Linked DNA regions of Homo sapiens: regions 1, 2 and 3 are each linked to region 4. The links are contacts of gene promoters, found by promoter capture Hi-C in blood cells and fetal thymus (Javierre and others, 2016). All regions are on one chromosome and are shown on one strand. Each heading gives the region's core, a stretch centred on a gene start or on the middle of the fragment in contact. The rest is flanking DNA. Distances are from core to core; before and after follow the strand shown.

The links. Contacts are between HindIII fragments. The CHiCAGO score rates a contact against its expected background, and 5 or more counts as called.
Region 1: a contact is called between a fragment that was not itself captured here and the fragment with the promoter of INPP5J in region 4, in 1 of 17 cell types (M1 macrophages). The highest score is 7.8, in M1 macrophages.
Region 2: a contact is called between a fragment that was not itself captured here and the fragment with the promoter of INPP5J in region 4, in 1 of 17 cell types (M1 macrophages). The highest score is 5.8, in M1 macrophages.
Region 3: a fragment that was not itself captured here is called in contact with the fragment with the promoter of INPP5J in region 4 in 2 of 17 cell types (M2 macrophages and M1 macrophages); the score reaches 5.6 in M2 macrophages.

Annotation. Positions count from the first base shown.
Region 1 is chr22:30,788,373-30,794,808 of GRCh38, forward strand. The region is part of intron 2 of OSBP2 (oxysterol binding protein 2); the gene reads left to right. Among named protein-coding and RNA genes, the nearest start is that of MIR3200, 60 kb to the left of the region's middle. The HindIII fragment of the contact is 575 bases long and covers 1,825-2,399 here.
Region 2 is chr22:30,755,263-30,761,601 of GRCh38, forward strand. The region is part of intron 2 of OSBP2 (oxysterol binding protein 2); the gene reads left to right. Among named protein-coding and RNA genes, the nearest start is that of MIR3200, 27 kb to the left of the region's middle. RefSeq lists a silencer at 260-409. The HindIII fragment of the contact is 7,351 bases long and covers 300-6,339 here.
Region 3 is chr22:30,845,949-30,851,969 of GRCh38, forward strand. The region is part of intron 2 of OSBP2 (oxysterol binding protein 2); the gene reads left to right. Among named protein-coding and RNA genes, the nearest start is that of MORC2-AS1, 73 kb to the right of the region's middle. The HindIII fragment of the contact is 5,133 bases long and covers 1-4,019 here.
Region 4 is chr22:31,121,686-31,128,446 of GRCh38, forward strand. INPP5J (inositol polyphosphate-5-phosphatase J) reads left to right here and starts at 1,281. Exons shown (of 13, transcript NM_001284285.2): 1 at 1,281-1,434; 2 at 3,160-4,325; 3 at 4,691-4,804; 4 at 4,928-5,036; 5 at 5,236-5,352; 6 at 5,672-5,847; 7 at 6,266-6,377; 8 at 6,529-6,638. The coding sequence starts at 1,330. The HindIII fragment of the contact is 6,854 bases long and covers 1-4,633 here.

The sequences.
Region 1 (6,436 bases), core at 862-3,361, 330 kb before region 4:
CCAAGGAGAATCCAGCAGTAGAGAGAGGCCAGCCATTTGCAACGTGGGGAGCTTTCACTCAGAGCCCTCAGTCAAACAGCCAGAATGAGCTCTGGGGCAGCTGACAGACCAGCCAAGGCCTCTCATATGATTTAATCTGACAGATACAAAAAGGAGCACAAAATGATTTTGCTGTGGCCTAGACATGCAGAGCTCCCACAATTACATGTGTCCTTTCATGAAAAATTAGATTATCACCGTAGCTCCAGCATAATGAGTCTCTAATGCCAAGGACTGTGTTAATTAATAAGTTGTACATGTTGACTTTTAAGTCAGGGCATCTTGGAGGGTGAACAATTTTATTTATTTATTTATTTTTGAGATGGAGTCTTGCTCTGTCACCCAGGCTGGAGTGCAGTGGCACCATCTCAGCTCACTGCAACCTCTGCCTCCCGGGTTCAAGCGATTCTCCTGCCTCAGCCTTCCGAGTAGCTGGGATTACAGGCGCCTGCCACCACACCCGGCTAATTTTTGTGTTTTTAGTAGAGTTGGGGTTTCGCCATGTTGGCCAGACTAGTCTCAAACTCCTGACCTCAGGTGATCCGCCCATCTCAGCCTCGCAAAGTGCTGAGATTACAAGCGTGAGCCACCACACCTGGCCAAACAATTTATTTTTAATAGCTTTGGAGAAATCTACATGTGATGACATGAAAGGGCAAAAAAATTACTCGGCATTAGCCCATTTATAGTATGTCTGGAGAGTCAGTTGACCATCTCGGAGACCATGTCCCTGCAGGAACAGATGAATAGGAAATGCTTGCTCCTGGTGCTGAGTGGTGAAAGTTTTGTTGCATCCTCTTAGAAGAACTTCAGTGCTCAACGGCTCTCAGAGGCTTCACTGTGTTGTCTCTGAGATGCAGCCTCGAGGTTGTAGGAGAGAGGATCTGGGAAGAAGTCCAACCTTGACAAGAGAGAGGGGGCCTGAATCTGGCAAGCAAGTGGGGGCCACATTCTCTGGGCATTCAGAAGCCAGGATTTCATAGGCCATGAAATCTGCTGTCTTTTAGAAGTGGGCTCCGGTCTGCTTTCTCTACACAAGTTCAAATTTTCCACCATTTCCAGGAGCCTGCAGCTAACACAAGTGAATGAGTGATTTCCTCGTCATTGACCCCATAAACTCAGATACTTGTAAAAGAGAAGTTAACTTACAGAGCATATAAAAATCAGAAAAAAACGGGAAGAGCCTACGGACAGTCCGGTACAGCTGTGTATGGATCACCCATTGGAACAAGCATTTCTTTAGGCTTCCAAGGCTGTTGGAGGACCCTAAGAGGGAAGAAAATGGTTTAGCTGGAGATGGTTTGGGTGCAGACTTTCCAGAAGGCAGTACCAGTGACCAGAAGGTGGACAGACTTCAATTCCAGCCCCAAGAGCACAGGCAGGGAGAAATGCTCTCTAAGAAGGAGGGTCTGCCCTTGAGATTCTTTGTCTGCAACAGCTTTGCATCTTCCACCAGTAAAAACTTTGTTCCCATTTTAGATCACAGTTTAATTTTATTTTGTGCCATGCTCTTTGAGGGTAAGAGGAATGTGAATCTCGGTGAAAACATGTGTTGTTTCTTGTGTACCCCTCTATACATGTGACAATGGCTATCATCTGAAAGAAGCAATGTGCAAGGGGAGAGGGTGACCCCATCTCCGTGCTACAAGGTGACTGGGCTGCAGAAGGAGGATGCAGCCCCTTGGGTCAGCAGATGGGTTTTGTTGGAGTGGCCCATTGGGTGTGGGTGTCTTGGGCTGGAGGTGATGTGGATGACGCACAGGGCTTATTCTTTGTGCCCTCTCAAGCTTCACCTTTGGCCCTGGCCTACAGGGATTCCGGGTTCAGGAAAGACTTTGAATCTGCAGCCACATGAAAATACATGGCACTGCTGTGGACCCACTTTTTAAGGAGGGGGGGGCGGGGAAAGCATAGAAAAGATTTGACAGCTTGAAACTACATCAGCCAGTTTGTAGAGGTTTTGGCCACTCTTCTAGTTTCCATACACATGATCCGTGATGGATTTGGAGGGGCATGGGAAAGAGGACAAAGCCAGAGGCTCCTCATTAGTCTTGGGAATTCAAGGAGACTTCAGTTTGGTAGCTGCACTTGGAGAGATTGTGTGTGTGCGCACACACATGTGGTTGCTCCAAGGCAGTTTCTACTGCTGCTTGCTCATGTGTCTGTAGCTTCCAGGCAGTTTTTCAGCAAGACTGTAAGCCAGATGCAAAAGCAAACCTGAAGAGATATGTCAAACTGCATTAAAAAAAAAAAAAAAAAGAGGGAGCATACTTTATAGGTTAAAGGAAATTTTTTTGATATGTGGTAATTTACTGAGAATCCACTGACAAATGTGGTTAAGGGTCATTTCAGGACCAATAAGCTTTTGGATGAACAATTTAAAAATCCGTTAAGGGATATTCCTTCCCGTATCTCTATGTTTGCTTCATCGAATCACGTGGTTGCCCTGAAGGGGAAATAGGATTCATTTGTTGGTTTTTAAATTCCTTGCTTGGAAGGATTTGGACAGTCAAGGCCAATGTGATCCCTGTTTCAAACTTCTCTTTTTATTTTTCTTTCATTTTTTATTTATTTATTTATTTTTGAGACAGAGTTTCTCTCTTGTTTTGTCACCCAGGCTGGAGTGCAGTGGTGTGATCTCGGCTCACGGCAACTTCCGCCTCCTGGGTTCAAATGATTCTCCTGCCTCAGCCTCCCAAGTAGCTGAGTGCCCACCACCATGCCCAGCTAATTTTGTATTTTTAGAAGAGACGGGGTTTCACCATGTTGGCCATGATCTTGAACTCCTGACCTCATGTGATCCACCCGCCTAGGCCTCCCACACTGTTGGGATTACAGGTGTGAGCCACCATGCCCAGCCAACACATCTCTTTTTCAGGCTGCAGGAGCTTATATATTGGGGGATTCTTCTTTTTTTTTTTTTTTTTTTTTTTTTGACAGAGTCTGGCTCTGTCATCCAGGCTGGAGTGCAGTTGTGTGATCTCGGCTCACTGCAACCTCCACCTCCCAGGTTCAAGCGATTCTTGTGCCTCAGCTTCCCGAGTAGCTGGGATTACAGGCGTGTGCCCCCAAACCTGGCTAATTTTTGTGTTTTTAGTAGAGACACAGTTTCACCATGTTGGCCAGGCTGGTCTCAAACTCCTGACCTGAAGTGATCCGCCCGCCTCGGCCTCCCAAAGTGCTGGGATTACAGGCGAGAGCCACCGTGCCCCGCTCATATTGGGGCATTCTAAATAAAATCAGTCCTGTCTCTTTAATGTATCCGTGCCACAGTTTTGTGAAATACATTGTCAATCTTAATTCTGCTTTGCGGATAGAGAAAAATGAATTGTTGAATGGAAGAGTGTCTTAGCTAGGAAGAGCTGCAAGATAGGAAGGTCATCATCATCTCTCAGGGCTAGACCCAGGCCAGTGGGGATTTCAGGAGCCTTTATAATAAATGGTTTAAGAACCCTCTTATTCTGCCCCCACATCAGTGGGTATACAGATTATTATCACTCAATGGGTATATAGATAAGTATTACCAAATATATAGAGTCAGAGAGATTATGATAAAATATCATAATCAAAACAGGAAAAAACAAAGTATTTAGGAACCGCATACAGAAGTTTCAATCAGGCCAGGTGCAGTGGCTCATGCCTGTAATCCCAGCACTTTGGGAGGCTGAGATGGGTGGATCACTGGAGGTCAGGAGTTCAAGATCAGCCTAGCCAACATGGTGAAACCCCGTTTCTACTAAAAATACGAAACATTAGCCAGGTGTGGTGGCACATGCCTGTAATCCCACCTACTCAGGAGGCTAAGGCAGGAGAATTGCTTGAACTCGGGAGGTGGAGCTTGCAGTGAATTGAGATCGCACCACTGCACTCCAGCCTGGGCGACAGAGCGAGACTCTACTGTCTCAAAAAAAAAAAAAGAATTATCAATCACTATGGTTTGCATGATAAGAAATAGTTTATGAATACAAGTATTTTTTTCATCCACCATCTGCAGTATTGTTTACAGAAGAAACTGAGGTTATAAACCTTCCTGTAAATGCTTCCTGCAGACATCTACTTACAGGCCCACGGGTAAAAAGTTTGCATTTATACTTTTTAATGAATAGTCTCTTTAGGGTTTAATTAGTCATTGTGTCTATGCATGAATCATTCATAATCTGGTCTTGCCACCAGCATATGGCAATTAAAGTCAGATGAATAGAAGTAATATTCTCAAGCAAAATGAACTGTACTCTTCGGCCAATTATCATTGGTTGGCAACATGTTTTATAGAGATAAAAGTTGATTGGCAGCTCTTACAAGTTTTGGTTTGTCTTGTCTCTTCGGGAGAAAGTGAACCCTATGAAAAGCACAAGCCTCCGGTCTTCCACACCAGCACTGTGAGGGCCACAGTCTCTCATATTCCCCAGCCAGCCTAACACTGGGGAGGTGGTCTGAGCTCATGTGAGTAATGTTAATAATCACCACTATGTGTGCCTACTGTGTGCCTGGCATGTTTACATGCATTATGGGTCATCTTCCAAGTGACTTGTCCACAATCACTGAGTTAGTAAATGGCAGAGCCTGGATTTTAATCCAAGACTATCTGATTCCAGGTTTTCTGCTCCATCCAGTCCACCACATTGTCTCAAAACTGAAGATAAGAGTAAATTAGATTGTAGTTCAGCTAAAAGGTTGACTTGAAAAAGGATTTAGGAGCCGGGTGCGGTGGCTCACGCCTGTAATCCCAACACTTTGGGAGGCTAAGGTGGGCGGATCACTTGAGGTCAGGAGTTCAAGACCAGCCTGGTCAACATGGTGAAAACCCATCTCTACTAAAAATACAAAAACTAGCCAGGTGTGGTGGCAGGTGCCTGTAATCCCAGCTACTCAGGAGGCTGAGGCAGGAGAATCACTTGAACTCAGGAGGTGGAGGTTGCAGTGAGCTGAGATCACACCACTGCACTCCAGCCTGGGAAAAAAGAGGATTTAGGTCTGGGTACACTGGTTCACACCAGTAATCCCAGCACTTTGGGAGGCTGAGGCTGGACGATTGCTTGAGGACAGGAGTTCAAGACCAACCTGGGTAACAAACATCTCTACAAAAAAACTAGGCTGTGCACGGTGACTCATGCCTGTAATCCCAACACTTTGGGAGGCCAAGGTGGGAGGATCACTTGAGCTTACCAGTTCAAGACCAGCCTGGGCAACATGACAAAACCCCATCTCTGCAAAAAAATACAAAAATTAACTAGGCATGGTGGTATGCTCCTATAGTCCCAGAGCCAGACCTTGTCTCAAAAAATAAAAAAATAAAAAATTAGACCCACGTGGTGGTGCACACCTATAGTCCTAGTCATTTGGGAGGCTGAGCCCAGGAGTTTGAGGCTGCAGTGAGCTATGGTTGCACCACTGCATTCCAGTCTGGACTACAGAGTAAGACCCTATCTCTAAGAAAAAGTGGTCTAAGTTGTACACCCATGTTCATACAGCATTATTCACAGTAGCCCAAAGGTGGATGCAACCCAAGTGTTCATTTATGATGAATGGATAAACAAAATGTGGTACATCCATACACTGGAATATTATTCAGCTTTTAAAAGGAAGGAAATTCTGACACATGCCATAACATGGACATCCTTCTATCTCATTTTTAAAATTATTAAGCAAGCACTTAAAAATTACTTCAAGCCAGGCATGGTGGCTCACGCCTATAATCCAAGCACTTTGGGAGGCCAAGGCAGGAAGATCACTTGAGCCCAGGAGTTCAAGACCAGCCTGGGCAACATAGTGAGACCTGGTCTCTAAAAAAAATGTTTTTTAATAATTTAAAAAATAAATAAAATTATCTTATTCTCTCCTCCTCTATTCATTTTTTTTTTTTTTTTTGAGACGGAGTCTCACTCTGTCGCCTAGGCTGGGGTGCAGTGGCACGATCTCGACTCATTGCAACCTCCGCCTCCCGGTGGGTTCCAGTGATTCTCCTGCCTCAGCCTCCTGAGTAGCTGAGATGACAGGCGCCCGACATCATGTCCGACTAATTTTTATATTTTTAGTAGAGACAGGGTTTCACCATGTTGGTCAGGCTGGTCTTGAACTCCTGACCTCGAGTGATCCGCCCGCCTCAGCCTCCCAAAGTGCTGGGATTACAGGCGTGAGCCACCACGCCCACCCTGTACCTTCTTTTTTTAATGAAGGAGATTATAATATGAATATTTGATATATTATAATCTACTTTAAGTTATTAATTTGCTACTTCCCAGACAATTTAAGAAGCTAACAACAGTTAAATATCTTCCAGGAGGCTGAGGTGGAAGGATCACCTAAACCCGGGAGGTGGAAGTTGCAGTGAGCCGAGATTGCATCACTGCACTCCAGCCTGGGCAACACAGTGAGACCGTCTCAAAAAAAAAAAATT
Region 2 (6,339 bases), core at 2,725-5,224, 360 kb before region 4:
TGATGGCTGGGACCTCAGATGATGTCCTGGGCCACAGATCAGGAGACTTCCCTGCTGGGCTGGAGATGTACAGGGCCCCATATCACCAGAGAGACCAGAGCTCACCACAGGACCAAGCAGCCTTTCAAGAGAGTCCTTATTATCAGATTCTCATTCCTTTCTTATCCTTTATTAGAAAAATTCATATGAGGAAGGGCATGGAGTTTTCTGCTGTTCTGATGAGGAATCAGGCAACCCCAGGACCGTGTGATTGGTTGTTTAAGCAGCTTCCGAAGTGTAGGCCTCTTTTGACTTCGGGAAGCTTTGTCTTATTTCCAGCTGCCATCTGGTGGCTGGATTGAGGCCCTTCTGAGGGCATGTTGAGTCAACCAGGGCTGGCTTGCTCACCTGTCTTTATAAGGTCCCCACAGGGTCATCAGAATGTGAGACCTCTGGGGAGAAGAGTCCAACCAGGAGAAGGAACTTTCACCTACGCAGCCCCCACCCTCCAAGAGGGGCAAACCTGGCCCAGGGACTGGTCGATTGTGCCCCTCTTCAGCGTTCCCCTCCCTGTGCCACTCATTCTTCCAAATCCTGGTGTCTTGGTGCCTCTGCTAGGATTGCACCCCACCCGTCTCAGCCCTCAGGTCCACCAGGGCCCTTGGCCATGGAGCTTGTCCTCAACCCCTGGGCCTCGTTCCCTGGTCGGCATGCTCTTGCATCTTCAGCTGTGCCTTAACGTGGAGCACCAGTCCCCACGCAGCCTGACCCCACTAGGCCCTGTCCACCTCTGCCCCCACATGGTCACCTCCAGACTCTGTGGGCTCTGGCTCAGTAATCTTAAAATCAGAAGCCCTGTTCTGGCCACCACAGCAGTTACCCTTCCAGTGCCCTTCCAGATCTGACTCCTCCAGGTGGCAGTTGCGTTTTTCTTTTCCTTTCTCACTTGGCCTCGCCCTGTGGTTCATCCCTGCTGGGGTGAGTTCTTCCTCTCTCTCCTGGTTGTCTGGCTTCCTTCACACCTGTTTGTCCTCTGTCTAACCATGGGGCAGCCCAGGCACTAGACAGGTTGGGCCCAAATCCAGACTGTGTCACTTATAAGGTGGGTCCCTCTGCCTCTGTCTCTTCACCCACAAAGTGTATGTAATGATAAAGACCTTTTAGGGGCCAGGCATGGTGTCTCACGCCTGTAACCCCAGCACTTTGACTTTGGGAGGCTGAGGTGGGCGGATCACGAGGTCAGGAGTTCCAGACCAGCCTGACCAATACGGTGAAACCCCGTCTCTAGTAAAAATACAAAAATTAGCTGGGCATGGTGGCGCACGCCTGTAGTCACAGCTACTCAGGAGGCTGAGGCAGAAGAATCGTTCGAACCCGGGAGGTGGAGTTTGCGGTGAGCAAAGATCATGCCGCTGCACTCCAGCTTGGACGACAGAGCGAGACTCCATTAAAAAAACAAAACAAACAAACAAAAAAAACCTCTTAGAGTTGTCAAGAGGGATAAATCAAATCATGCTACAAACTGCCCAGCAGTCACTGGAGTGTGGTGGCCACTCAGCTGACGGAAGTAACATTGTCAGTCTTTGGGTGATGACCTGTCAGTTCTGCACCTTCTACCTTCAGGCAGGGGTGATAGGGCCCTTTGCTGAGCACACGTACACATGCTATGCAGCCACGTTCTGCAGTGACCCTCCCAGCCATGCAGACAACACTCCTCAAACCCAGGGTATCTGCTGTGTGGTGACCCCTTCCAACCATGCAGACCACACTCCTCAAACGCAGGGTATCTGCTGTGCGTTGACACCTCCCAGCCAGGCAGACCACACTCCTCAAACCCAGAATATCTGCTGGCCTTGATCAGTACCTGTCCCCTTTGTGTGAGTCCCTCACCACCTTTCTCTCCCATCTCCCAGGGACGTCCTTGCTACTCTGTATATTTTCACTGCTGCCTCCTGCCACACTGCAAAAGATCTTGCTTCCTCATGCATAGAACAAAACCAGATCCACAGCTGAGCCCCTCAGCTCTCTGCCATTACACGCTCCCTGCGTCCCCCCTGCCATATGAATCCCAAATGATTCCAGTGGAGACATTTCTCCCCTTTGAAGCAGTGCCAGCTTCAAAGGGTGATTTTCTCCCTCTTGCTGGGGGACTTGGTTTTATCGCTGTTTTCTTTTTCCTTTTCTTTTCTTTTTTTTTTGAGACAGAGTCTCTGTCGCCCAAGCTGGAGTACAATGGCATGATCTCGGCTCACTGCAACCTCCGCCTCCCGGGTTCAAGTGATTCTCCTGTCTCAGTCTCCCGAGTAGCTGGGTCTACAGGTGGGTGCCACCATACCTGGCTAATTTTTGTATTTTCGGTAGAGACAGGGTTCCACCATGTTGGCCAGGCTGGTCTCAAACTCCTGACCTCAAGTGGTCTGCCCGCCTCGGCCTCCCAAAGTGCTGGGATTACAGACATGAGCCACTGCACCCAGCCTTATTGCTGTTTTGTCACTCCTGTAGCCTCAACCTCTCTCCTGGCCTCTTCCCACTGCATATGACCCACCACTCACTACTTTGAAACTGTACTAGCCAAGGTCTCAGGTCACTTTCCAGACCTGGCAGATGACTAAGAAGTGAACCTGGGTGTCACCTTGAGTCCTGCCCTCCCTGATCCCTCATGTGCAGCTTGTCAGCAGATCCTGTCAGTGCCAGACCTGAGCACTTTCACATCTGCCCACTGCCCTCCATCTGCCTGGCCTCCAACCCAGTTTCACTATCTGACCTCCCAGAGTCTGGACAGCAAGAGTGAGTCTTTTAAAATCCAATTCTGCTCAGTTCCAGTTCCAGGTAGGATTAAGTGAGAAGGTTTCACTCTGCAGCTATGAAACATGGACAGGGCCAGGCACAGTGGCTCATGCCTGTAATCCGTGCACTTTGGAAGCCTGAGGCAGGCCGATCACTTGAGGCCAGGAGTTCGAGACCGGCCTGGCCAACATGGTGAAACCCCATCTCTACTAAAAATACAAAAATTAGCCGGGTGTGGTGGCGCACGCTTGTAGTCCAGCTACTGGGGAGGCTGAGGTGTGATAATCACTTGATCCCGGGAGGAAGAGGTTGCAGTGAGCCGAGATGGCACCACTGCATTCCAGCCTGGGTGACAGAGCGAGACTCTGTCTCAAAAATAAAATAAAATAAAATGTGGACAGAATGCACAGAGCAGCTATTTGAGCACCCTGAAAATTAAGTAGCCACAAGCAGACTAGAGAAGACCAGAATCTGAGGTAACACCAAACAGGTGGTGAGGTTACAATTTTTTCCCTCCAGTATCTTCTAGAGTGGACTCAGGGGAGACCCAGAAGTGAGCAGACAGAGAAAACTCCTGGAGAAGCCCTCTAGTTCAGGCTCAAGGAGGAAAGGGTCCCCTGTCAGTGATAGCAGTGGCGATGAGAGGCCTGCAGGTACCAAAAACTCAGAGGAATCCATGCACACCAGTAGGAAGAGCTCTGGGCCCAAGAAGTGAGGGAACCCCTGTTCCATTTTTCTCTCACTCTTCCTACCACTTAGCCCCCGATATAGGTGTGGTGGTGGGAAGTGGGCAGCCAGAGGACTGAAACAGAGCCCAAGAGAACCAGAAAAAAACAGGAAATCACAGAAAGAGAACACCTTGGGAAAGTGACCCCATAACGTTGTTTTCATGAACTCCTGGCTTCACGTTCAAGCCGCACATGGATGGATCTGATCCTAAACAGCATACTAAAGATTTTGAGAACTGAACTTAAAGCTGCATGAATACCCACGTCCCTGTGGCCACTGGCTGGCACACATGTGGAACAGATCCAACTAGTACTGCAAAGGGCCGGGCGCAGTGTAACCTGGCACTTTGGGAAGCCGAGACAGGTGGATCACTTGAGGCCAGGAGTTCGAGACCAGCCTGGCCAACACGGTGAAACCCCGTCTCTACTAAAAATACAAAAATTAGCCAGGCGTGGTGGTGCACACCTGTAATCCCAGCTACTCGGGAGGCTGAGGCAGGAGAATCGCTTGAGCCTGGGAGGCAGAGCTTGCAGTGAGCCGAGATTGCACCACTGCACTCCAGAGCAAGACTCTGTCTCAAAAACAAAAACAAATAGTACTGCAAAGGCTTTGAAAATGGAACAAACAGTGAAACCACCACCCAGAGACGGCTGGTCACTACCTGTGGCCTTAACCCAACTTATTTGATAGACTGCTAAAATGAAAATATCAAATTACCAACATCAGGAATGAAATAAACAATTAATAGCACTAACAAACATAAAAGGACAATACTACAAAAACATAAAATAGATACATAATACATAAAAGGAATGCTACAGACAACTCTGCTGACAAATTTGACAACTTGGATGAAATGAACCAATTCTTCAAAAATCAAATTCTAACACTTGCCCAAGATCAAATCCATAAACTGAATAATCCTATAACTATTAAAGAAGTTGCATTCATAGTTTAAAACACTTCAAAAAAGAAGTCTTCAGGCCTACATGATTTCACAGGTAAATTTTATCAAATATTTGAAAAAAGAATAACACTATTTCCACACAATCTCTTCCAGAAAACAGAAGAGGAATGAGTAATTTCTTTTCTTTTTTAATTTTTCTTTTCTTTTTTTTTTGAGACAGTGTCTCGCTCTGTTGCCCAGGCTGGAGTGTGCAGTGGTGCAGTCTTGGCTCACTGCAACCTCTGCCTCCCAGGTTCAAGCAGTTCTCCTCCCTCAGCCTCCTTAGTAGCTGGGATTACAGGCATGTGCCACCACGCCCAGCTAATTTTTTTTTTTGTATTTTTAGTAGAGACAGGGTTTCACCATGTTGGCCAGGGTCATCCTGAACTACTGACATCAGGTGATCCGCCTGCCTTGGTCTCCCAAAGTGCTGGGATTACAGGCGTGAGCCACTGCACCCGGCTTTTTTTTTTTTTTTGAGACAGAGTCTTGCACTGTTGCCCAGGCTGGTCTCAAACTCCTGACCTCAAGTGATCTGCTCGCCTTGGCCTCCCAAAGTGCTAGGATTACAGGAGTGAGTAATTTCTAACTCATTTATAAGGACAGCATACCCTGATACCAAACTGAACAAAGATAGTGTAAGAAAAGAAAACTTCGGACCAATATTTCTCATGAGCATAGATGAAAACATCTTCAACAAAATATTAACAATTTGAAACCAGCAATACAATAGAATATTACACCATGATCAAGTGGATTTCATGCTAGGAGTGCAAGATGAGTGCAAGATAGGTGCAAGATAGGTTCCATGTTTGAAAATCAATAAATGGGGCTGGGGGCAGTGGCTCACACCTGTAATCCCAGCACTTTGGAAGGCCAATGCAGGCAGATCACTTGAAGTCAGGAGTTCAAGAGCAGCTTGGCCAACATGGTGAAACCCTGTCTCTACTGAAAATACAAAAATTAGCCAGGCATGGTGGTGCACACCTGTAGTCTCAGCTACTTAGGAGGCTGAGTCAGGAGAATCGCTTGAACCCTGGCAGGGCGGAGGTTGCAGTGAGTGGAGATCGCACCACTGCACCCCAGCCTGGGCAACAGAGCAAGACTCTGTCTCAAAAAAAGAAAAAAAAAAGAAAATCAATATAAATGGAATCATAATATTAACAATCTAAGAAAAACTACATTATAATATCAATTGATACAGAAAAAGGCATTTGACAAAATTTAACATTATTCATGGTAAAAACTCTCAGCAAACTAGGAGACTCCTCCACCTGATTAAGGGCATCTTCAAGAAACTGACATCATATGTAGTGATAGAAGACTGAATGCTTTACTTTCCGCCTAGGATCAGTAAAGTCAAGGATGTCCATGCTCACCCCTCATATTCATCCTAATACTAGCCAGTATTATAATGCAAGAAAAAAGAAGTCAAAGGCACTCAGATTGGGAAGAAAGAAACAGAGCTATCCCTATTTGCAAGCGACATGATGGCTGTGTAGAAAAATCCCAGGAAATCTACAAAAATATTTTTAGAGTGAGTTTAACAAGGTCACAGAATACAAGGTCAGTACATAAAGGCCAGTCATATTTCTGTGTATTAGCAATGAACAATTGGTAACAAAAAATTTTTAAAAATCACTTACAATGACCCCATGAAATACTTAGATATAATTATAACAAAACAAATATAGTATCTATATGTAAATAGTGTTAAATACTGATGAAATAGAAGACCAAAATAAATGGAGAGACATACAATGCTCATGGATCAGAAGATTCAAGAGAGTAAAGACGTCAGTTTTCCCTTGACTGATCAGTAGCTTGAATGCAATTCCAAAAAAAATCCCAGCAGGACATTTTCTCAGCATAGACAAACTTATTATACATTTATATGA
Region 3 (6,021 bases), core at 203-2,702, 280 kb before region 4:
ATCCATTCATCAGTTGATGGACATTAACTTTGGGCCCATAATGAACAATGCTGCTATGAACATTCATGTGTGAGTTTTTGTGTGGATATATGTTTTCATTTTTCTTGGGTGTATACCTAGGAGTGGGATTGCTGGGTTATATAATGACTGCCCAACTGTTTTCTAAAGTGATCATATCATTTTATTTTATTTTATTTTATCTTACATTATTTTTTTGAGACAGGGTCTCAACTCTGTCACCCAGCTGGAGTGCAGTGGTGTAATCTTGGCTCACTGCAACCTCTGCCTCCCAGGTTCAAGCAATTCTCCTGTCTCAGCCTTTCATGTAGCTGAGATTACAGGCATGCACCACCATGCCTGGCCAATTTTTGTATTTTTAGTAGAGACAGGGTCTCACCATATTGGCCAGGCAGGCTGGTCTTGAACTCCTGACCTCAAGTGATCCACCCGCCTTGGCCTCCCAAAGTGCTGGGATTACAGGTGTGAGCCACCGCACCCAGCCTGATTGTACTATTTACATTCCCACAGTATGAGAGTTCCAATTTTCCCACATCCTTACCAATATTTGTTATTTTCTGCTCTTTTGATAATAGCCATCCTAGTAGGTGGGAAATGCTAGTATCTCACTGTGGGTTTTTTTTTTAATCCCCTTCCCTCCCTCTCACTCTGGTTTTGATTTACATTTCTCTAATAACTAATGACATGAGCATTTTTTCATGTGTTTATTGACCGAAGAAGATATCTGTGTATCTACTTTGGAGAAATGTCTATTCAAATACCATTTTTAAGTTTGGTTATCTTTTATTGATATTTCATCATTGAACCAACATTCATTTCTGGAAGAAACCTCACTTAATATGTGTTATACTTTTTATGTATTGCTGGATTCAATTTGCTAGTACTTTTCTGAGTATTTTTGTGTCTTTGTTCATGCGGTATATTGGTCTGTTGTTTTCTTTTTTTGTGATCTTTGGTTTAGGTCCTTGGTCTGTGTAGAATTGATATTATTTCACTCTTAAATTTTATTTATTTATTTATTTATTTTTTGAGATGGAGTCTTTCTCAATCACCCTGGCTGGAGTACAGTAGCACAATCTTGGCTCACTGCAACTTCCACCTCCCAGGTTCAAATGATCCTCCTGCCTCAGCCTCCTAAGTAGCTGAGATTACAGGCACCTGCCACCATACCCAGATAATTTTTGTATTTTTAGTAGAGATGAGGTTTCACTTTGTTGGCCAGGCTGGTCTCAAACTCCTGAACTCAGGTGATCTTCTTACCTCGGCCTCCCAAAGTGCTGGAATTACAGGCCTGAGGCACCTGCACCCAGGCTCATTCTTTTTTCTTTTTCCCTGAGAGGGAGTCTTGCTGTTCACCCAGGCTGGAGTGCAGTGGCATGACCTCGGCTCACTGGAACATCCACCTCCCAGGTTCAAGCAATTCTTTTGACTCAGCCTCCCGAGCAGCTGGGACTACAGGTGCCCACCACCACGCCTGGCTAATTTTTGTATTTTTTGTAGAGATGGGATTTCACCATGTCGGCCAGGCTGGTCTCGAACTCCTGACCTCGTGATCCACCCGCCTCAGCTTCCCAAAGTGCTGAGATTACAGGTGTGAGCCACCGTGCCCAGCCTAATTCTTAAATATTTGGTAGACTTCTTCACCAAAGCCTTCTGAGCCCTGAGTTTTCTGTTGTAAGATTTTAAACTATAGAATCAATTTCATTAATAGACTCCTCAGGTTTTTTTTATGAGTGAGTTTTGGTATGTTTGTATTTCAAGGCTTTGTTTATTTTGTCTAAGTTGTCAAGTTTGTGAGCAAAAAGTTGCTCATGATATTTCCTTGTTGTTCTTTGTCTGTGAGATCTGTAGTGATTTCCCCTCTTTCATTGCTGATATTAGTCATTTGTATCATTCTTTTTTCGTCCTCAATCTGGCTAGAGGTTTATAGATTTTATTGATATTTTCAAGGAATTGGATTTTTGTTTTATTATTTTTATATACTGTTTTTCTTATACATTCTTTTAAAACACATATACTATAGATACCCTATGAAAAGTAAATAGAATTATAGTATACATACTGTTTTGCTCCTTGATCTTTTTCACTGACTATGTCTTAAAGGTTTTTTCCATATTAGTACACAGAGTTCCATTAGATTCCCTAACAGCTATATAATATTCTGTTATATTCATGTTTCATAGTTTAAATAACCAGTCTCTTTTTGAAGGGCATTTAGGGCGTTTCCAGATGTTTTGCTATTGCAAATAGTGCTTTTAGGATGTTTCATTCTAAAAAGCATCCTAAAAGCTATTGCAAACAGTGCTGAATGTTTCCATCCCAAAAACTGTCCTAAAAGCTATTGCAAACAGTTTTGAAATGTACATTTATATATATCAATATTTGGTCATATGTATATCTGTATGTCTGTAGGATAAATGACTAGAACTGGATCAGTAAATGGTTGTCCTTTTTTTCCTTTTTAAATCAACCTTATTATTATTGAATTTAAATGCAACAAAATGAACTGATTTTAACTGTTCTTTGAGTTTTGACATGTATACACCTGTGTAGCTGCCACCCTAAAAAAGATATAGAACATTTTAATCATCCCCAAAAGTTTTCTCATACCTCTTTGCAGTCAATATCCCCCAACATCTTGCTTTAGATAGCAACTGATCTTTATGCACTATAGTTTTACTTGTTCTAGAATTCCATTGTATGAAATCAAACAATAGGACGTGTGCCCTCTTTCATTCAGTATCATGCTTTTGAGGTTCATCCATGTTATGTGAATATGTAGTTTGTTCGTTTTTATTGCTAACTCGTTTTCCATAGTGTGAATATACCACAATTTTTCATCTGTTAATGGATGTTTGAATAGTTTCAGTTTGGGGCTGCTATGAGCCATAAAACTGCTGTTAACATTTAAAATGCATGTATTTTCATGGACATATGTTTTTATTTCTCTTAGGTATATCTAGAAGTGGAATTATAGGTCATATCATAAGTGTATATTTATCCTTATAAGAAATTGCCAGCTGGGTGCAGTGGCTCATGCCTGTAATCCTAGCACTTTGGGAGGCCAAGGCAGGGGGATCACCTGAGGCCAAAACTTTGAGACCAGCCTGGCCAACATAACAGTACCCCATCTCTACAAAAAAATTTAAAAATTAGCCAGGCATGATGGTGCACGCCTGTAGTCCTAGCTGCTCAGGAGGCTGAGGTGGGAGGATTGCTTGAGCCCAAGGAGATTAAGAGTGTAGTGAGCTATGATCATGCCACTGCACTTCAGCCTGGGCAACAGAGTGAGACCCTATCTCAAAAAAAGAAAAGAAAAGAAAGAATTTAAAGAAAAGACAAAATAAACTGCTACACTTTGTTTTCCAAAGTGATTATACCATTTTACATCCCCACCAGCAAGGTATGAGAATTCAGTTGTCCCGCATCCTGCCAACCTGGAATTGTTGGTCTTTTTAAGTTCACTTCTTCCTGTAGGCATGTAATGGTATCTCATTACGGTTTTAATTTATATTTCTCTAGTTACTAATGATATTGAGCATCTCTTCATGTTCTTATTAGCCATTTGTATGTCTTCTTTTATAAAACACCTTTTCAAATCTTTTGCTTATGGGAGGGTGATGTTTGCCTTATTATGCATTTGTAGAGTTCTTTACATATTGTGAATACAAGTTGTCACGAACATATATTGGGAAAAACTTCTCCTGTGGTTTACCTTTTCATTTTTTAATGGTATCTTTCTGAGATCACATGATTTTAATTTTGATGAAAACTACTTATCAGATGTTTCTATTATGATTAGTCCTTTTTGTGTTCTAAGAAATTTTTGCCTACCTAAAGATAGTGCTATGTTTTCTTCTAGATGTTTTATAGTTTTAACCTTTACATCTAGGTTTATGTTCCATTTTGAATTAGTTTTTGTGTATGGGGTGACATAGTTGTCAAGGTTACTTTTTGCCATATGTATATTTAGTTGTTCAAGTACTATTTTTTTTAAATGAAGCTTCTCCTTCATTGACTTACCTTGACAGCTTTATTGAAATTCAGTTGATCAGGCTGGGCGTGGTGGCTCACACCTGTAATCCCAGCACTTTGGGAGGCCGAGGCGGGTGGATCATTTGAATTCAGGAGTTTAAGTCCAGCCTGGCCAACATGGTGAAACCCCATTCTCTACTAAAAATACAAAAAAATTAGCCGGGCATGGTGCTGTGTGCCTATAGTCCCAGCTACTTGGGAGGCTGAGGCAGGAGAATTGCTTGAAACCCAGGAGGCGGAGGTTGCAGTGAGCTGAGATTGTACTACAGCACTTCAACCTGGGTAACAGAGCTAGACTCTGTCTCAAAAAAAAAAAAAAAAATTCAGTTGATCACATATGTGCATGTCTATTTCTGAACTCTGCTATGTTCCATTATAAGTCCATACTTACGCCAATACTACACTGCCTTGATTATTTTAGTTGTATAGTAAATCATGTTAGTAGGTAATTTAAGTCCTCCAGGTTTGTTCTTGTTTTCCAAAACTGTTTTGGCTATTCTTCATCCTTTGATTTTTGAGACAGCATCTCACTCTGTCACCCAGGCTAGAGTGCAGTGGTGTGATCTCCGCTCACTGCAACCTCCGCCTCCTGGGTTCAAACAATACTCCTGCCTTAGCCTCCCAAGTAACTGGGATTACAGGTGCGTGCCATCATGCCTGGCTAATTTTGTATTTTTAATAGAGGCAGGGTTTCACCATGTTGGCCATGCTGGTCTTGAACTCCTGACCTCAAGTGATCCACCCGCCTGGGCCTCCCAAAATGCTGGGATTACAGGCGTGAGGCACTGCACCCGGCCTGATTTTCTATATAGATTTAAGAATTGGCTTGTCAATTTCAACAAAAAGTCTCCTGGGTTACTGAATGGGATTGCATTGAATCTATACATTAATTGTGGAAAATTGATATTTTAACAATATTTAAGTTTCCAATCCATGAACTTGGTATGTCTCTCCATTTATTTAGGTCTTTAATTTATCTTAGCCATGTGTTGTCTTTCACATATTTTGTTAAACTTATTTGTATTTACTGTTTTTGATGTCATTTTAAATGGTACTATTTTTATTTTATTGTTTTTTTGAGACAGAGTCTCACTCTGTTGGCCAGGCTGGAGTGCAGTGGCATGATCTTGGCTCACTGCAACTTCCTCCTCCCAGGTTCATATAATTCTCCTGCCTCAGCCTCCTGAGTAGCTAGAATTACAGGCATGCGCCACGCATACATGGCTAATTTTTGTATTTTTTTTTTTTAGTAGAGATGGGGTTTTACCATGTTGGCCAGGCTTGTCTCAAGCCCTGACCTCAGATAATCCACCCAAAGGGCTGGGATTACAGGCATAAGCCACCGTCCATGGCCTAAATGGTATTATTTTTAAATGTCATTTTCCAGTTGTTCATTGCTAGTATTTCAGAAAAATGATTGTTATATATTGACCTTTTATTCCACAGTCTTTCTAAATTCACATTTTAGTTCATGTGGCTTTTCTTTAGATTCTTTAGGGCTTTCTAACACAATGTGATCATGTTATCTGTAAGTAAAACCTTTTTCATTTCTTCCTTTCTAACCCATATGCTTTTGGTTTCTTTTTCTTGCCTTATTGCACTGACTGGAACTTCTAATGTAATGTTGAGTAGAAGTGGTAATAGCAGACATGACTTATTATTTCTAATAATAAGTTTTAGGAATTTTATTCCTAAACCAGGAAGTTTATTTCTGGTTTTAGGAATAAGGAAAATTTATTTTAGAGAAAAGAGTTCAACTTTTCATCATTAAGTATGATGATAACTGTAAGATTTTTATAGATGCCTTTTATAATGGTGAGGAAGTTCCTCCTTCTTCCTAGTTTTCTGTTTTTATCCGGAAGGGTTATTGAATTTTCTTAAATGCTTTTTTAGTATTTCTGTTTCTTAAATAATTCTACAGCCAGAAACTTTTTCAGTATTTATTGAATTTACATTTTTCTTGATACC
Region 4 (6,761 bases), core at 31-2,530:
CTCCACTATCGCTGTCCAAAGACCTTTCTACCCCAACACTCTAATATGGCCTGAGTCTCTGCCCCTGCAAATTCCAGCAGAGATGCTGGCCTGAGAATACAGACTAGACCTACTGACAGTCAAGCAGAGGTAGGAAGTGCCTTCAGGAGAGGAAAGTGAGGCATCTGCCTTCATGTAGGAGACTGCACAGGCCCATGCAGATGCTCCATGTTGGTTAACAGGGAGCTCTGCACACACAACTCTGAACACTTTCTGCCTAAAGTGGGTGGGATCACTCCTCTCTAAGCCATGAGAAACAGATCCCACAGCCATCCCAGCCCAATCTGACCCTCATCACCCATTCACTCTTCTAATTCATTTATTCATTCAACAAACACTCCCGTAGGCCTGTTGGGGACCATGTCCTGGGCTGGGTCCTGGCTGTAGCAATTCTCAGGCCTGTTTGTAACTCTCTTGTCAGTCTGTTACCCCACTGCTGGGCCCTTCTCCACCCAAGTTCCCTTCCCCCAGATAGCTCGAAGGGCTTGTGCTCATCCTAGGTCACTAAGTTTTCTCACTGAAACACAGGAGACCTTCTCAGTTCACCAGGTGACCTTGAGCAAGTTCCCCTCCCAAACCACACCCAGTGAATACTGGAGAGAAGAAAGCTGACAGAAGCCGGGCTGGGTTAGGCCTGGCTGTGGGGACATCTGAGGGCAGCTAGGTGTCTGCAGAAGAGGAGGGGCTGGTGCTGAGGCCTGAGATGGGAAAAGACTGCAGTGGCTGGAGCCTGAGTGTCTGGTTCTGGGTTGGGAAGAATAGAGCCTGGGACTGGCAGTAGGAGTGGAGAGGGTGGCACCAAGACCTGAAAATGGGGCAAGGGTGGGGGCCGGGGCAAGCTCTGAGCTGGCAGGGAGCCAGGAAGGTCACAGGATCAGGGCAAGAACTCAGTTGTCTCTGAGGCCCTGGAGAGGGTGCAGACCTCTGAACCACCTGTCCTACCTTAAGGCAGGTGTGTTAATGCCCCTCCCTGGAGCAAAGGGCTGACCAGGCCTACGGCAGAAAGGTGAAGGTAGACAGACAGCCTCCTTCCTGCTGCCAGTTGGGACCTGGGCCAGGCAGATGGGTACACTCTCCCCTCCCCACTCCATGGCTGTTCCAGCCTCAGCAGCCAGTTTGAAGGATTCCCAGGGGGTAGCCACCTTGCTTCGGCCTCTTCCAGGCTGGGAAGTGGGAGCCTGTGCCTTTAAATTCTCAGCAGGTTGAAATGGCTGATGACATCACTGGTTCCCGGGAGCGGTAGAGCTGGAGCCGGAGCCAAGGGAGTCCAGGCTGCCGGGGGCTGCAGACATGGAGGGCCAGAGCAGCAGGGGCAGCAGGAGGCCAGGGACCCGGGCTGGCCTGGGTTCCCTGCCCATGCCCCAGGGTGTTGCCCAAACTGGGGCACCCTCCAAGGTAAGACCCCTGAGACCCAGTGCCCCCCGCTTTCCTGATCCCTGGTTCCACACACCCCCCCCACATACACTGCAGGCTCCCTGGTGCTCCTGACTGAGGGGCTGGTACTTTCCTCTGCTCAGCGAGCAGGGGCTAGGTGAAGAGAGCACCCTGGGGGCTGAGGGGCAGTGACAGGATGCCCGGAGACAGATGAAGTTAGCCATCTCCAGGAGCCCTTGGGAGAGTCCTGGACTGGGTATCAGAGGACCCAGCTGTGCTCCACCTTTGCTGTGTGACCTTGGCCAAGTTGCTTTTCCTCTCTGAGCCAATGCAAAATGAGGGGGCTTGTCGCTGAAGACTAAAACTGTGACATCTGGGATGGCTAAGTTGTTAGTACTGGAGGCGGTGTGATAGTTGGGGGGAAGCCGGCACACAGTGTGACACTTGGAGCCAAGGAGGGTGCCTAAAATGCCACCTCAAAGAACTGAGTTTGAGAAGGGAGGTGGAGATGGAGTTTTAGGTACTCTGAACTGAGAAGGATACGGGACAGAAACAGAAGTGCGTCTCCAGAGGCAGGGCCTCCCTGCGCCCTGTTACCCTACCTAGGGCCATCCTGGGGCAAGTATAGACATTCTTCTGCCCTCCTTGGTGAAGGACACTTTATCCTGTCTTCTGGAGACAGGGGACATCAGAGAGAATAGATGGGGAAGGAGGATAGGTCTCTACAGGACTCCGTGACTCCCCACCCCTCCCACCTGCCGGACATAAATGGGATACCTGCTTGCCTGTCCTTTCAGGTAGGGGAGAAAGTGGAGGATGTAAGAGGGCACAACCTGGGCACAGAGAGATGTGACACCAGGATCAACTTAGAATCCTGGACTTGCTCTGAATGCTAGATTCACACTTGGTGAGGATGGACTATTCAACGGGGCTAGATGGAATTCTAGCAAATGTTGGGCTCATAAATGCAGACAATGGGAGATGAAGATTCCCCAGAATATAATGTGGCCAGGAACCCTAGACCCCATCCCTTCATTTTACAGACAGAGAAACTGAGGCGCTGGGCAGAGAGGTACTTGCCTAAGGTCACACAGAGCTGGGCTTTGAATCTACACAGCCAGTCTCAGCTCCCAGCTCTTGCTCCTGAGTGGAGCTCTGGGAATGGGTAAGAGAACAGAGAGGGCTGTAACCAAGGGATTTGGATGTTTAGGGGGCGGTGGGGAACTGAGGGTTTCTGGGCATTATGAAGGAAGGGAGAGGTATTTAACAAGCTGCACCTGTAGGTCTGTATCTTGACAATAGAAAAAGAAAAGAAACAGGCTGTCCCCAGTGTGCCCAGACCTGGGATGTCAGGTCAGTAGCCGTGGCTGGGGGAGCTTCAGGGACTGCAGTGGGAGGGTTGCCCAGGGAAGCTGCCCCGAATGGGCAGGGTGTGGGTGCCAGCCAGGAAGGCAAGGCAAGTCCTCAGGTTTAGGTTCACACTCTGCCTCATTTGAGTCAGGGTCTGAGTTTCCCCATCTGTGAAAGAGGTTTCAGACTTAAAGGAGGGGTTAGGGTTTTGTGTCCTATCTCCTCCAAGACAGAAGTTGACCTGCAGCAGAATAGATTGAAGTGAGATAGTAGGAAGAACTTCCTTGGAAAGATGTGCCTTTCTTAGCTAGATGAACTCTGCCAGGGTCTATATGGAAGTTGGGGCCCAATGCCCTGGTTAGGGTCACTCTGAATCTTTGACTTGTCCTCCACAAGGTGGACTCAAGTTTTCAGCTCCCAGCAAAGAAGAACGCAGCCCTAGGACCCTCGGAACCAAGGTTGGCTCTGGCACCTGTAGGGCCACGGGCAGCTATGTCAGCTTCCTCGGAAGGACCGAGGCTGGCTCTGGCATCTCCCCGACCAATCCTGGCTCCACTGTGTACCCCTGAAGGGCAGAAAACAGCTACTGCCCACCGCAGCTCCAGCCTGGCCCCAACATCTGTGGGCCAGCTGGTGATGTCTGCCTCAGCTGGACCAAAGCCTCCCCCAGCGACCACAGGCTCAGTTCTGGCTCCGACGTCCCTGGGGCTGGTGATGCCTGCCTCAGCAGGGCCAAGATCTCCCCCAGTCACCCTGGGGCCCAATCTGGCCCCAACCTCCAGAGACCAGAAGCAGGAGCCACCTGCCTCCGTGGGACCCAAGCCAACACTGGCAGCCTCTGGCCTGAGCCTGGCCCTGGCTTCTGAGGAGCAGCCCCCAGAACTCCCCTCCACCCCTTCCCCGGTGCCCAGTCCAGTTCTGTCTCCAACTCAGGAACAGGCCCTGGCTCCAGCATCCACGGCATCAGGCGCAGCCTCTGTGGGACAGACATCAGCTAGAAAGAGGGATGCCCCAGCCCCTAGACCTCTCCCTGCTTCTGAGGGGCATCTCCAGCCTCCAGCTCAGACATCTGGTCCTACAGGCTCCCCACCCTGCATCCAAACCTCCCCAGACCCTCGGCTCTCCCCCTCCTTCCGAGCCCGGCCTGAGGCCCTCCACAGCAGCCCTGAGGATCCTGTTTTGCCACGGCCACCCCAGACCTTGCCCTTGGATGTGGGCCAGGGTCCTTCAGAGCCTGGCACTCACTCCCCTGGACTTCTGTCCCCCACCTTCCGGCCTGGGGCCCCCTCAGGCCAGACTGTGCCCCCACCTCTGCCCAAGCCACCCCGATCACCCAGCCGTTCCCCAAGCCACTCCCCGAATCGCTCTCCCTGTGTTCCCCCAGCCCCTGACATGGCCCTCCCAAGGCTTGGCACACAGAGTACAGGGCCTGGCAGGTGCCTGAGCCCCAACCTTCAGGCCCAAGAAGCCCCAGCCCCAGTCACCACCTCCTCTTCTACATCCACCCTGTCATCCTCCCCTTGGTCAGCTCAGCCTACCTGGAAGAGCGACCCCGGCTTCCGGTGAGGGGGCCCTCTCCCAAGAAAGGTGGCTGGGGCTTAGCTCTGAGGTTAGCCATTCTTCCAGGGTGGATGGTGTGCTCTACCTCAGCTTCTCTCTCTGAGGAAGAGTCTTTGGGGAGGGGGTTGCTGGGCCCACTCTGTGACGCTCAGAAGATAGCATCCCCTCCTAAGGAACTTGCCGCCTCTCAGTTGATCTCCCCAGGGAGAGTGTGGCAGAGGGACAGGATTCGGGGCCTCCTGTGGGTCCTTCTTAGGGCTTTGGCCCACACCTGCCTCCATTTAGTTCCCCAGGGAGTCCTGTGAAAGGAAGCTTGAGGGTGAGGGAGTGGTGCCAGGACTACACCCTCATATGCCCCTGCCCTCAGGATCACTGTGGTCACATGGAACGTGGGCACTGCCATGCCCCCAGACGATGTCACATCCCTCCTCCACCTGGGCGGTGGTGACGACAGCGACGGCGCAGACATGATCGCCATAGGGTGAGGTGGCAGGGCATGTGGACCCCCTCCTGAGCCCCTCGGGCCTTCCGGGCCCTCCACCCATGGCAGGGGCTTCCAGGGCACCTCTCCAATCCCATGGCCACCCTGCCCCCACCCCTCCAGGTTGCAGGAAGTGAACTCCATGCTCAACAAGCGACTCAAGGACGCCCTCTTCACGGACCAGTGGAGTGAGCTGTTCATGGATGCGCTAGGGCCCTTCAACTTCGTGCTGGTAACGCACCCCTCACCCCCTGGACAGCCAGAGACCCTGCTGAATTCCTGGCTCCAGCTGTACCCTGGCTCACTGTGGGGCCCGCTGGGCCTCTGTGGCTGGGTCCGTGACATGGGTGGGTGGAGGAGCAGACCTGAAGGTGGGCGCGAGGGCGGGGGAGTTGTGTTCTGTCCCCCAGCCACGTGGCCTCCCGCTGCAGGTGAGTTCGGTGAGGATGCAGGGTGTCATCCTGCTGCTGTTCGCCAAGTACTACCACCTGCCCTTCCTGCGAGACGTGCAGACCGACTGCACGCGCACTGGCCTGGGCGGCTACTGGGTGAGCCTGTGAGCAGGCCCAGAAGAGGATGGGACATGAAGGGGGCTTTAGATTAGTCCCCCCGCCCCATGCACAGCAAGGTCCCCTTCCCATCCTCCACCCTTTACCCTGCGGCCCAGCCCCCCCATGCACCACCCAATACCCCATCCTATTCCTCTATACCCCCGCCCTTTTCTCTCCCCACTGTGTCCCAGCGTTGTTCCTCATTTCTGTAGGACCCACCCACCTTCCACCCACATCTCCTCTCTAACCCCCGCTCCCAGTGCCTCACCTCCTGGCCTAAGCCCCGCCCATGAGCCATCCGACCCTGCCTCCCTAGGGTAACAAGGGTGGCGTGAGCGTGCGCCTGGCGGCCTTCGGGCACATGCTCTGCTTCCTGAACTGCCACTTGCCTGCGCATATGGACAAGGCGGAGCAGCGCAAAGACAACTTCCAGACCATCCTCAGCCTCCAGCAGTTCCAAGGGCCGGGCGCACAGGGCATCCTGGATCATGAGTATGGGCTGGGGTGGGGCCAAATAGAGCTTGGGTGGGGCTAGTGATGGGGGTTTTTGTACCACCTTGGGTGGGGCTTATGGAGAGAGGCAGGGCCTATGGGGTTTAGTGCCCACCCAAACTAGTTGTAGGAACACGAAAGCAGAGAGCAGTTGGATGGGGAGGGGCGGAGCTTGTAGGGTGGAGCTTTGCTGAGGGGCCCCGCCTTGCTGAAGGTCAGAACCTAATTTCCTGTAGACCGGTCCCTCTGCTTTTCCTCTGCCCTTTGGTGGGCTGGAGGCTCTGGCACCACTCACCCACTCACTACATCCCCTCGGGTTGGATGGGCTGGAAGGATCTGGGCTGAGCCCTTATCCTCCATGGACCTGTTGACACCCCCCACTGCCCCCCACATCTCTCCCATCCCCCACCCCAAACAGCCTCGTGTTCTGGTTCGGGGACCTGAACTTCCGCATTGAGAGCTATGACCTGCACTTTGTCAAGTTTGCCATCGACAGTGACCAGCTCCATCAGCTCTGGGAGAAGGACCAGGTGGGGTCCTTGTCCCCAGAAGCACACAGAGCATGTCCCAGGACACGCCTGTACCTTAGACTATGGTCCCTGTCCTCACCTGCCCCACCCCCTCCCTGGGCACAGCAGAGCCCAAGCTGTTGTCCAATCTGCTCTCCTGGACCCCCCACAGCTCAACATGGCCAAGAACACCTGGCCCATTCTGAAGGGCTTTCAGGAGGGGCCCCTCAACTTCGCTCCCACCTTCAAGTTTGATGTGGGTACCAACAAATACGATACCAGGTGAGCTCAGTCCGAGGAGGGACTGAGGGGAAGTGGGCTGAGGTCTTCTCGAACAGGGAGACTTTGGGAAGAGGGGCAGGAGGCAAGGTGGAGGGTTACATCTTGATCCCCAGCCCCTGAAAC